3 separate regions of the Homo sapiens genome follow, and all the other regions are linked to region 1. Evidence: promoter capture Hi-C in human tissues and cell types (Jung and others, 2019). All regions are on one chromosome and are shown on one strand. Each heading gives the region's core, a stretch centred on a gene start or on the middle of the fragment in contact. The rest is flanking DNA. Distances are from core to core; before and after follow the strand shown. Region 1 holds the start of PHOX2B (paired like homeobox 2B). Region 2 overlaps PHOX2B-AS1 (PHOX2B antisense RNA 1). Region 3 has its middle 15 kb from the start of LIMCH1-AS1.

What was found. Contacts are between HindIII fragments. The study calls those that stand out against the background at their distance.
Region 2: a fragment that was not itself captured here is called in contact with the fragment with the promoter of PHOX2B in region 1 in 4 of the 25 tissues and cell types used here (H1 embryonic stem cells, IMR-90 fibroblasts, aorta and 1 more).
Region 3: a contact is called between a fragment that was not itself captured here and the fragment with the promoter of PHOX2B in region 1, in 2 of the 25 tissues and cell types used here (aorta and mesenchymal stem cells).

The regions. Positions count from the first base shown.
Region 1 is chr4:41,747,309-41,750,544 of GRCh38, reverse strand. It overlaps PHOX2B (paired like homeobox 2B), which reads left to right and starts at 1,820. Exons shown (of 3, transcript NM_003924.4): 1 at 1,820-2,175; 2 at 3,009-3,196. The coding sequence starts at 1,935. PHOX2B-AS1 (PHOX2B antisense RNA 1) reads right to left here and starts at 2,196. Exons shown (of 4, transcript NR_187403.1): 1 at 1,959-2,196. The HindIII fragment of the contact is 4,691 bases long and covers 743-3,236 here.
Region 2 is chr4:41,785,798-41,788,986 of GRCh38, reverse strand. All of the region lies in intron 1 of PHOX2B-AS1 (PHOX2B antisense RNA 1), which reads right to left. Among named protein-coding and RNA genes, the nearest start is that of PHOX2B, 39 kb to the right of the region's middle. The HindIII fragment of the contact is 3,915 bases long and covers 1-3,189 here.
Region 3 is chr4:41,706,469-41,709,710 of GRCh38, reverse strand. No RefSeq gene overlaps it. Among named protein-coding and RNA genes, the nearest start is that of LIMCH1-AS1, 15 kb to the right of the region's middle. The HindIII fragment of the contact is 4,169 bases long and covers 1-3,242 here.

The DNA.
Region 1 (3,236 bases), core at 571-3,070:
ACAACATACAACTGCAATAAAACTATCAGCCCTCCCCATAAAACTATCACCAGGATCCTCGGTAGGTCCGGCTCCCTGCACTCCCGACTTTAGCGCTTCCTCACGCCCCGAGGATTTGCAACCACCTGAAACGAGCCTGAAACTCACCCTGCAAAGAAGCACAAGGCTGGGGGACCGCTGTCCCCGTTTAATCCATTACTGCGTCCGCGGCAGTTTAGTGCGCAATAAAACACGGTGGCAGGGGAGAGCGGGAGCCCATCCACTCCCCGGCACTAGCATCGAATTAAACCACTTAGTTTGGCAAACACTGAACGCCTAAATGCCCCTATAAAGACTTTATGAGTTTGTTACTTTAATTACTGACTTGTTACAGAGCACATAAAGGGGGTAATGAATGCAATAAAACTAATTATCTACACATTTAATTCATATAAAATATCCAGGGTTTGTTTACACCACACGGCGATTCAGCTAAGCTTTCCCCCTCTTGTCCACCGAGAGGAAGGATTTAATGAAATAGTTTCCCTTATTCTGCTAGGGCCTAACAAACCAAATGAAAATTACCCTCCGCTTAAATCATGGGGCCACTGAAGTCCACAAATCACTGCTCGCTCCTTTGTCTGTGCCTCGCTGCCAGCACCCAAAAGCCTGAGGAATCGGACAAGAAAGGTGCCCGACCTGGAGCCCTTGCCTGGGCATTTACATGGCAAGAATTTCCCTCACTACAGTCCGCAAACCTAAAAGGCAAACAGACACAATCCCCGGGTCTGTGGAGGATTGTGGGCACCTGAAAAAAAAAAAGAGGCGAGAAAGAGGGAGAGCGCCCGAAAGAGATGAAAGAGGAGATACATTTGGGTACACTTCATGCTCGCTTGCCAGTTATGGTGTAATTAAAACGAACAACCTCACAGAAACTCAAACCAACCAAGGCTTGCGCTAATGCAAACAGACAGAACTGAGAGCAAAGAACACAACGGTCGAGAATCCAGATGTTTCACATTCGAAAGCTTTCCTCAGATTTTTTTATTATTATTTTTAAGTGGCTGTATACCCTGAGTCTCTTGAAAGCACATTTAGCTGCAAGAAGAAATGCAATTTATAAGATGCTTTCTCTCTGTCTCTCTTTTTTTTAACCCCCTCTACCAGGTGTATTTTTAAAGAAATCCGCTTATCGTTCACATAAACCCCCTTGGCCCACTTACTCTATGTTACAGGGCGCCTGAGTCTTGCCAATGTCCCAGTCCTTTATAACATTTCATGCACTTCGGGGGGTAGGCTTGTTGTTAAATTGAGCGTGTAACACTCTTACAAAACAGGTTTTCTATGACATCAAGGTTTCTTCTCCCTAACCGAGGGGGAAAAAAAGAAGAGGACGAAGAAGGGGGAAAACACACACACTATCTCAATTTATGCCTAAGGTATATGATCAGTTAAAAAGGCTTAAAAGCTCGGGGAAATTGGATCAGGGAGAATCGTCACCCAACTTTCATTATTTCCAAGTAGTGTGATTGAATTAAAGGGCAGGGAGCTGGTTAGAAGGGAGGATCAGGGGCTCGGTGCGTAATGGTGTGGTATTAAATTCTAATTAGAGATGCAGGAATCAATGATAGGGAGGTTGGACAGCTCAGTTCCCCAGTGCCAGCCCAATAGACGGATGAGTTATTGTCATGTAAAAAGCGCCAGCAATAAGACCAACCGCTTTGCTATTGTCCAAGTGGAAAGAGCCAAGTTTATTATGAGGACTATATGCTCTAGAGACCTCAGACAAGGCATCTCATAGGAGGCTTTTTCATAAAACTAGGCTCTGCTGGTAGTAAGGAGGCCAGTTTGGAGGCAGGCGTTGAGCTGTGCACATCTCCCCACTCCAGCCACCTTCTCCATATCCATCTTTTATTTCATTTTTCCACTTGGCTGAGCCATCCAGAACCTTTTCAATGTATAAAATGGAATATTCTTACCTCAATTCCTCTGCCTACGAGTCCTGTATGGCTGGGATGGACACCTCGAGCCTGGCTTCAGCCTATGCTGACTTCAGTTCCTGCAGCCAGGCCAGTGGCTTCCAGTATAACCCGATAAGGACCACTTTTGGGGCCACGTCCGGCTGCCCTTCCCTCACGCCGGGATCCTGCAGCCTGGGCACCCTCAGGGACCACCAGAGCAGTCCGTACGCCGCAGGTAAGGACCTTCAGCTTTCTCAGCGGAGGAAGCCGCCTTTCCGCCCGTATATAGGAAGCCTTGATTGCATTTGAAAATGGAAATGTGTTTAGTATTTACCAAACGAAATTTGCTTACACAAATGAAAGAATTTATCACGTTAGAAGCGATTGCAGGGAGGGGTAATTCACTTACAGGGTTACACTATCCTAGTCACACCCGAACCGCCAACAAAATTATCTTAAGCTGCCAAAATGATAGGCATAATTTATTTACTTTGCGATGAGACGTAAAGCTTAGAAAATAATTAAATAACAAAGAGTAAAGCTCATTACTGGCAGTGTCTCTTTTTTTAAGAACCGACAGCGGCTCACACCTCTTTGGCTGGTCATTTTTATGATTATTTCTTTAATTTATTATTATTTTTTTGCAGCTCTTTCCCCCAACTTTTGAGCCGGGTCAACTTTCTGAGAATTGAAAAGTTCCCAAAGTGGGACTGTTTGGTAACTTCTTTCCTGGCTCCCTGATATTCCGACTGATGTTTTTGGATTTTTTTCCTCTCTGGTTTTTTCCTGCTGAAAGCACTATCTCAAGTCCGTCACATCGCGCTGTTTCAATCCACCCAAAGGCGCTTGTGCCAGAAAGGACTCCGCCAAGCCCGAAGTTTGAGCCCAGGTTTCCGCAGATAACAAATTTCCTCGGTTTCTTCCCGCAGCTTCTCTCGGCAACTCTCTCGCGCGGGTGTAGGTAGCGGCTGCCGTATGACCTGACCTTGGAGTCCTCACATTCTAGCTCCACGGCCGGCGAGCTGCCGGCTGATTTGCTCACTTTCTGTCTCCTCTGTCATACTCTAGTTCCTTACAAACTCTTCACGGACCACGGCGGCCTCAACGAGAAGCGCAAGCAGCGGCGCATCCGCACCACTTTCACCAGTGCCCAGCTCAAAGAGCTGGAAAGGGTCTTCGCGGAGACTCACTACCCCGACATCTACACTCGGGAGGAGCTGGCCCTGAAGATCGACCTCACAGAGGCGCGAGTCCAGGTACGCGCGCCTGGAAACCGACCCCGCTCCGCCGCACTGG
Region 2 (3,189 bases), core at 30-2,529, 39 kb before region 1:
TGGCGGGCAAAGGGCAGAGTCTAGTTCAGGTCAGTCTGACTCCAAAGTCCATGCTTCAACCACCTGGATATGCCATCATGAGAGTTTATGTTTAATCTTGAATATTGTTCTCTATACTTAGCTTTATAAGCATGAAGCTATTATATTACCTCCAGCGGCATCTGAAATGTCAAAATAATATCTGGAGTGGATGTACCATAATTTAAATACTCAATCTCTTGCCCCTCCTTGTTAAACATGTAGGTTGTAGAGAATGTCAGAGCAGAGATGCCCAATATTTAAAGCTCAGAGAGCGTAAGGAAGAGCATCCTATTGTGGAACCCCAGGAGTGAGGTGGTGGACAAAGTAAAAGCCAGTTAACATAAAGGGATCACGTGGAAACTGGGTCCTGGGCATCTTGCACTTTCCTAGAACCCAACATGTGGCTCCCAGGAAATTACAGGAACACTGAACAAGGAGGCTGCAGAAGGGTAACAGGAAAGGTTTGTGTTTGCATTTTCCCCACATCTGGTTTTTGCCCATCTGAACACGTCGTAGGGCTAAATTACAATGTAATAAATTACAAGGGCTTGACCATCAGAGCCTTTTTGGGGTATGGGAGGGAAACATCCAATCCTGCTTTGCTGCTAGGTCTCTCTCTCTCTCTCTCTCTCTCTCTCCCCCTTTCTCTGTCTTCTGAGGAATCTGAAGGATGACTAATAAGGGGTAAAAGAGACTCATCTTCCTCTTCCTCTCTCTCCCCCACTCCCAGGGCTGGGTCTTTCTGCCCTCAGAAACCCTTGGACGCTGTCAGTGATTGTTAGAGAGAGACTTTTCGGGCTGAGGCTTCAGACACTGCCCAAGGGCAGATTGCTGGACTCCCAGCCCGAGCCCTGCCTCACGAACAATGAAGACCCTTCAGCTTCTCCCTTCAGCTGTCTCAGGGCCATCCCGGGTGAGGTGGGGGTGGGCGATCAAGTGAACCCCAGCTCAGGAGGGCACAAGGAGGGAGGTAAAATAGCACGGTTAAAATCAGAGTCTTTTTGAACCCCGGGTTAAATTTCCAGCCCTGCCATTTATCTGTGTAACTTTGATTTGTGTTAGTTAACCTGAAAGAACCTCAGTTTTTCTATCTAGAAAATGGTGATGATAATCCTTAACAAAGAGAGGCTGAAAAGATGAAATAAAATGAAACCATTGTGCCTGTCAATCAGTGCATGTTGGCTGATATTGATATTGTCAGCCTAAGTGTATGGAAGAATTATATTCTCTCTTCTATTTTGTAAAATGCTTCTGACTATTTTTGTGTAATTTTCTACTTAGTTAAACTCATTCATTTTTGCCCGGATGGGTTAATTTACTAACCCTCCCTTACCCACCCTTCCCAAAAGCTTTTGTTCTTCTAGGTCCATGGCTTGGAGAAAGGAGACGTAGGTCTTTTTTGTTTGAAGGATACTGGGGCTTGAGGCGACCCTCAGGTGACCTGTTCCAGCCGGAGAATCTAGCTAGAGAGAAGTTTGCAGGAGACACAAGAAGCTTTTGTGACTTTTTTTGTTTGTTTATGAATATTTAAAAGCATGTGTTATTCTTTGTACGGTGTGTATAGAAGCTATTCAACACTTGCAGGTGAATGATAAGATACTCCTTTTTCAGGACAAGAAATTCCTTTGGCATTCTCATTTTTTCAGTCTTAAGAACCCAAAAGAGAAAAGTATGACTCTGAGAGGCTTCCAAATGGGAATTAACACCACTCTATGATCTGTGCAGTTGTTATTTGCAATACAACACAAGCACAGAGGACATAGGGGGAAAAAAGAAGTATAACCAAGGGACAAGATTGTAGTATATTTTCTCATGAAGAATAGAAAACAATTCTCTCCTAAAACCAGATTGAGACAGCTAATTGGAGCCTTTGGGAGACACCATTGACGAGACACTCAGAAAAGAATTACTCCATTTTGCAGTTCAGTGTGTCTCAGATCTTAGACTGACCTAATTTCAACAAAACATAATATTATGAAAGAAAAAAGTTGTATCCCAATAGTAGGAAGTGATTGTAGGGTTAAAGGGTGCCTGTTTGGTAAGTGTCTACTTCGTCTTCTTATTCCTTTAAGCTCCTCCACTCCCTGGCACTCACCCTATTTCTACTTTCAAGGATAGACTCTGACATTTCTTCTGTGACTAGAGTAAGTCATCCTTTTTCTTTCTGGAATTTGGGTTCGTAAAACTGCAACCCTTATATTTTAAAAGAGACTCTTAGGACAAAACTGGAAAAAAATTAAAGTGATGAATTGTTTCTAGAAACTATTTGATTCAGGAAACTTTAAATTACCAAGAATACTCATGGTTAATTATTCTAGATTTGGTTTACCCAAATCTCAAAATTAACTGTGCATATAGTTTGCTTGGATTGATACATGTTGATGATGTTTACCGCAAATAATCCCTCAAAGCTTAGAATCTATTTTTACTTTTTCCCCCAAGTTAGAATTTAGCCTTTGAATACATTTTGTTTATAGTTATTTAAAATTCCATGTAAGTATATAAACTCCCACTTGCTCTCGTTTCATTTCTCTGCCATTTTTGCAGGCAATTTTTACATGAAAGTTGTGTCACTCTTAACAACCTAGCCTTATTTTCTCATTTCCCTTTAATGGTTTTGTGTTCTAAGTTCAATTTAAGAATGGATTGCTTACATTTCACTTACAAATCTCCCTTCTAATCACTGTTATTAATACCACAATTTTGTTGTAATATCTGTAAGAGCACAAAATGTGTCCTCTTAAAGATGCATTTGCCAACCGCTGACTTGCATACATTTCAATTACAACTCTCCCTTGTAATTATTATTATTAATATCACAATTACTATCTTAATATCTATAAGACTGCAGAAGGTGGCCTGTCAAGGGTGCATTTACAAACAGCTTTTTCAGTTTCCTCTTAAGAAAAATGTGCCAGACTTTATCTAAATTCAACCTCCCCTATGATTTACATTAGACAACACACTCCATCAATAAAACCATCAAAATGATCTACTGCATTGTAGACAAAAGTTATTGTGTCAAGTTGACACTAATCAGTTAATTCCAGTAAACCTTCAGATAAACAAAAGCTTGTTGTCTATTACTGATGTGTGTGATGGGTCTCTTGTATATCCTATGGTTGTGCCCATCTATAGAGATGTATTTGGCAGACACTTGCCCTGAGG
Region 3 (3,242 bases), core at 477-2,976, 41 kb after region 1:
AACGTTCTTATTTTTCCATATTATAAAAGCCATGTAGATGGTCAGTGTGGAGAAAACACTCAGAAGTGTTCAGATAAAAATTTTTAAAAATCTATAATTACACTAATCAGAAATAACTGCTGTCAGTATCTTGGCATATCTAATTCAATATTTTCTTTTCAGATTGGTACATATTTATTTTGCAGAGGTTCTGAGAATATTTGTAAATTCTTTGTGGCCCTAATGCTATAGGCTAGAATTTATTTCAGGGGCAGATTCCCTCTTTTCAGAAGAGTTACTCTGATAAGCATATCCAGTAATATTGATACAAGTTAAACAAGAGGTTTTTTTTCATACTGTAGCCCTGAATATTGGTAATGTAATTCCACAACCTCAACTTTTACTATATTGTTACTAGTCCTAATGCATGGTCATCCTAATAGAAACGGCTGTTTACCATATACACTAAAATATGTCCTATTTAAAATGCATGATCCTGTTTAATCCTCACAATAACACTATATGGTATGTTTTACTATTATCCCCATTTTGCAGATGAGGAAACCAAGACACAGAGAAGATAAACAACTTGCCTGAAGTCACAAATGGTAAGTGGTGGAGCTGGGATGTGAACCTGGACATCCCAACTCCAGAGTCTGTGCTCCTTCTTTAGACAGAGATGTTAATTGAGGTGTTTAGTAAGGTAAAGGCTGTCTTTGCTGTGGGCTGGCTGTAAAAATCATAGTTATATTTGCTGGCATTATTTGGATTCCTTTAGCATGTTTAAATACAAGGGTGCTCTCCTAGGGGTAGGGGTGGAGGAACGAGGGGAGGAGAGAGAGAATAAAAGGAAACTATAGTTGGGAAAAGTGTGCCTCTCAACGTGGCAGCGGGCCAGAGGCCAGGAGCTAAGGAGGAAGGATGGACATGACTCCCTGTGAACACACATGGCCAGTGGATTTTAAGAGCAATGATACATTAATTCCAATTTGATGTTTTCCTTTCTTGCCTTGTAATCTGGCTATGCTATCCTCAAGCCATATTTAAACTTATTAAACCATGAGAGGCCCCTGTTAGCTGGTCTCTGAAGAATAAAACAGTGGTGGGTTGTTTCCATGTTTGGGGCTTCGCTGGACTGAAAAGAGGGGGAATTGCATATGGAAGGAATGACGAAACAGGCAAAAGTGACTGAAGAAGAAGCCTGGGGCAGCTACTGAGCAAGAACTGTGGGAAACAAAAACCAGGGCACTCTGAAGATCAGACATAATTGCAGAAAGGGCCAGATTTCTTGTAGTCCTGTAGAATGGAGCATGGATTTATGCCTGGATATTATGGGAAGGCATGGCCCCATAAATCTTGAAAACTGCAGATGCTCGGGTTACATATATAATACAAAACATGAGACATAGTTTATATATATATAATATATACACATATATATATACACATATATACACATATATATATAAAATAGATTTGACTTATAAAACTTGAATCACGTGCATAGTTTGATATTATGGCTTTTTATTTATTTACTTATTTTGAGACAGGGTGTTTCTCTGTCACCCAGGCTGGAGTGCAGTGGTACGACCACAGCTCACTGCAACCTCTGCCTCCCAGGTTCAGATGATCCTTCCACTTCAGCCTCCCGAGTAGCTGGGACTACAGGCTCATGCCACCACAACCAGCTAATTTTTCTAGTTTTAGTAGAGATGGGGGTTTTGCCAGGTGGCCCAGGCTTGTCTTGAACTCCTGGGCTTAAGCGATCCTCCCACCTCAGCCTCCCAAAGTGCTGGGATTACAGATATGAGCCACTGTACCTGACCTCATGCCTTTTTTAAACATAGCATTTTATTGTGGGTACTTTAATAATTTAAAGTAAATGTTTTTGAAAATGGAATTTTTCAATGGCAGAATGTTATTATAAAGATATGCCATAATTTTCACAATGATTTCCCTATTGTTAGACATCTAGGATGTTTTCCAATTTTTTGCCTATGTAAATAACAATGAGACAAGGATATCTATTATCACCAATTACTGGATAGCTTAGCAATACAATATGACATGAAAAAAATGAGAACATAAAAAAAGACAAAGTAATCTTTTTTGTAGATGATGATGATTAACATAGAAAATTCAAGAGAAATGATAAACAATGTGTAGAACTAATAAAAGAGTCCAGCAAAGTTGCTGGGTCCATGATTAACATAAAGAAATCAGTAGTATTCTTGTATATGAGCAATACTAATTAGAAAAGTATAGTCTATAAATTCAATGTTCATCAAAATCCCAAGGCATTTTAGAATTTACAAGCTTATCCTAAAATGTGTATGAAAGAGTAAAGAGCCAAAAATAGCTAAGATAATTTTGAGAAAGGAAGTTTGCTGTTCTGGACAGCAAGACTTAATATAAAAATATAGTAATTAAAATAGTGTCATAATAGTGTAGACATATATGAATATATTAATGAAATGGAATAAATTCCCAGAAACAGACTCTTAGATATATGCAAATCAGTATCCCACAGGAGTGATATTACAAATCAACAGGGAAAGGATGGGTTTTTAAGGGGTTCTGGGAAAATCGACTATCCAAAGAGGAAAAACATTAGATCCCTACATCACTTGATAAAGATCCAAATGTCAAATTCAAAACTTTAAGAATTTTAAGAGTATGTAGCAGGATACCTTTATGCAAGCAATTGATAAAAGATTGGGATCTAGAATATTTACACAACCCCTATAAAGCTGTATGAATAATAAAGCCATTTGGTTGGGTGTGGTGGCTCCCAATATTTTGAGAGGATGAGGCAGGTGGATCACCTGAGGTCAGGAGTTGGAGACCAGCCTGGCCAACATGGTGAAACCCTCTCTCTACTAAAAATACAAAAAATGATCTGGCATGGTGGTGCATGCCTGTAATCCCAGATACTGGGGAGGTTGAGGCAGGAGAATTGCTTGAATCCCAGAGGCGGAGGCTGCAGTAAGCTGAGATGGCACCACTGCACTCCAGCCTGGGTGACAGAGCAAGACCCTGTCTCAAATAATAATAATAATAATAATAATAATAATAATAATAATAATAATAATAAGAAAGCCATTCAATAGGAAAATTGGCAAATGAAATGAACAGGTAATTAACAGAAGTGGAAATTGGTCCATTTGTGTGTCCAGAAGTCCAATAGAGATATGAAAATATGCCCATTTCAGCCTCACCATTAGTCAGGAGAACATAAATTTAAGCAATGCCTTCCATCAGAA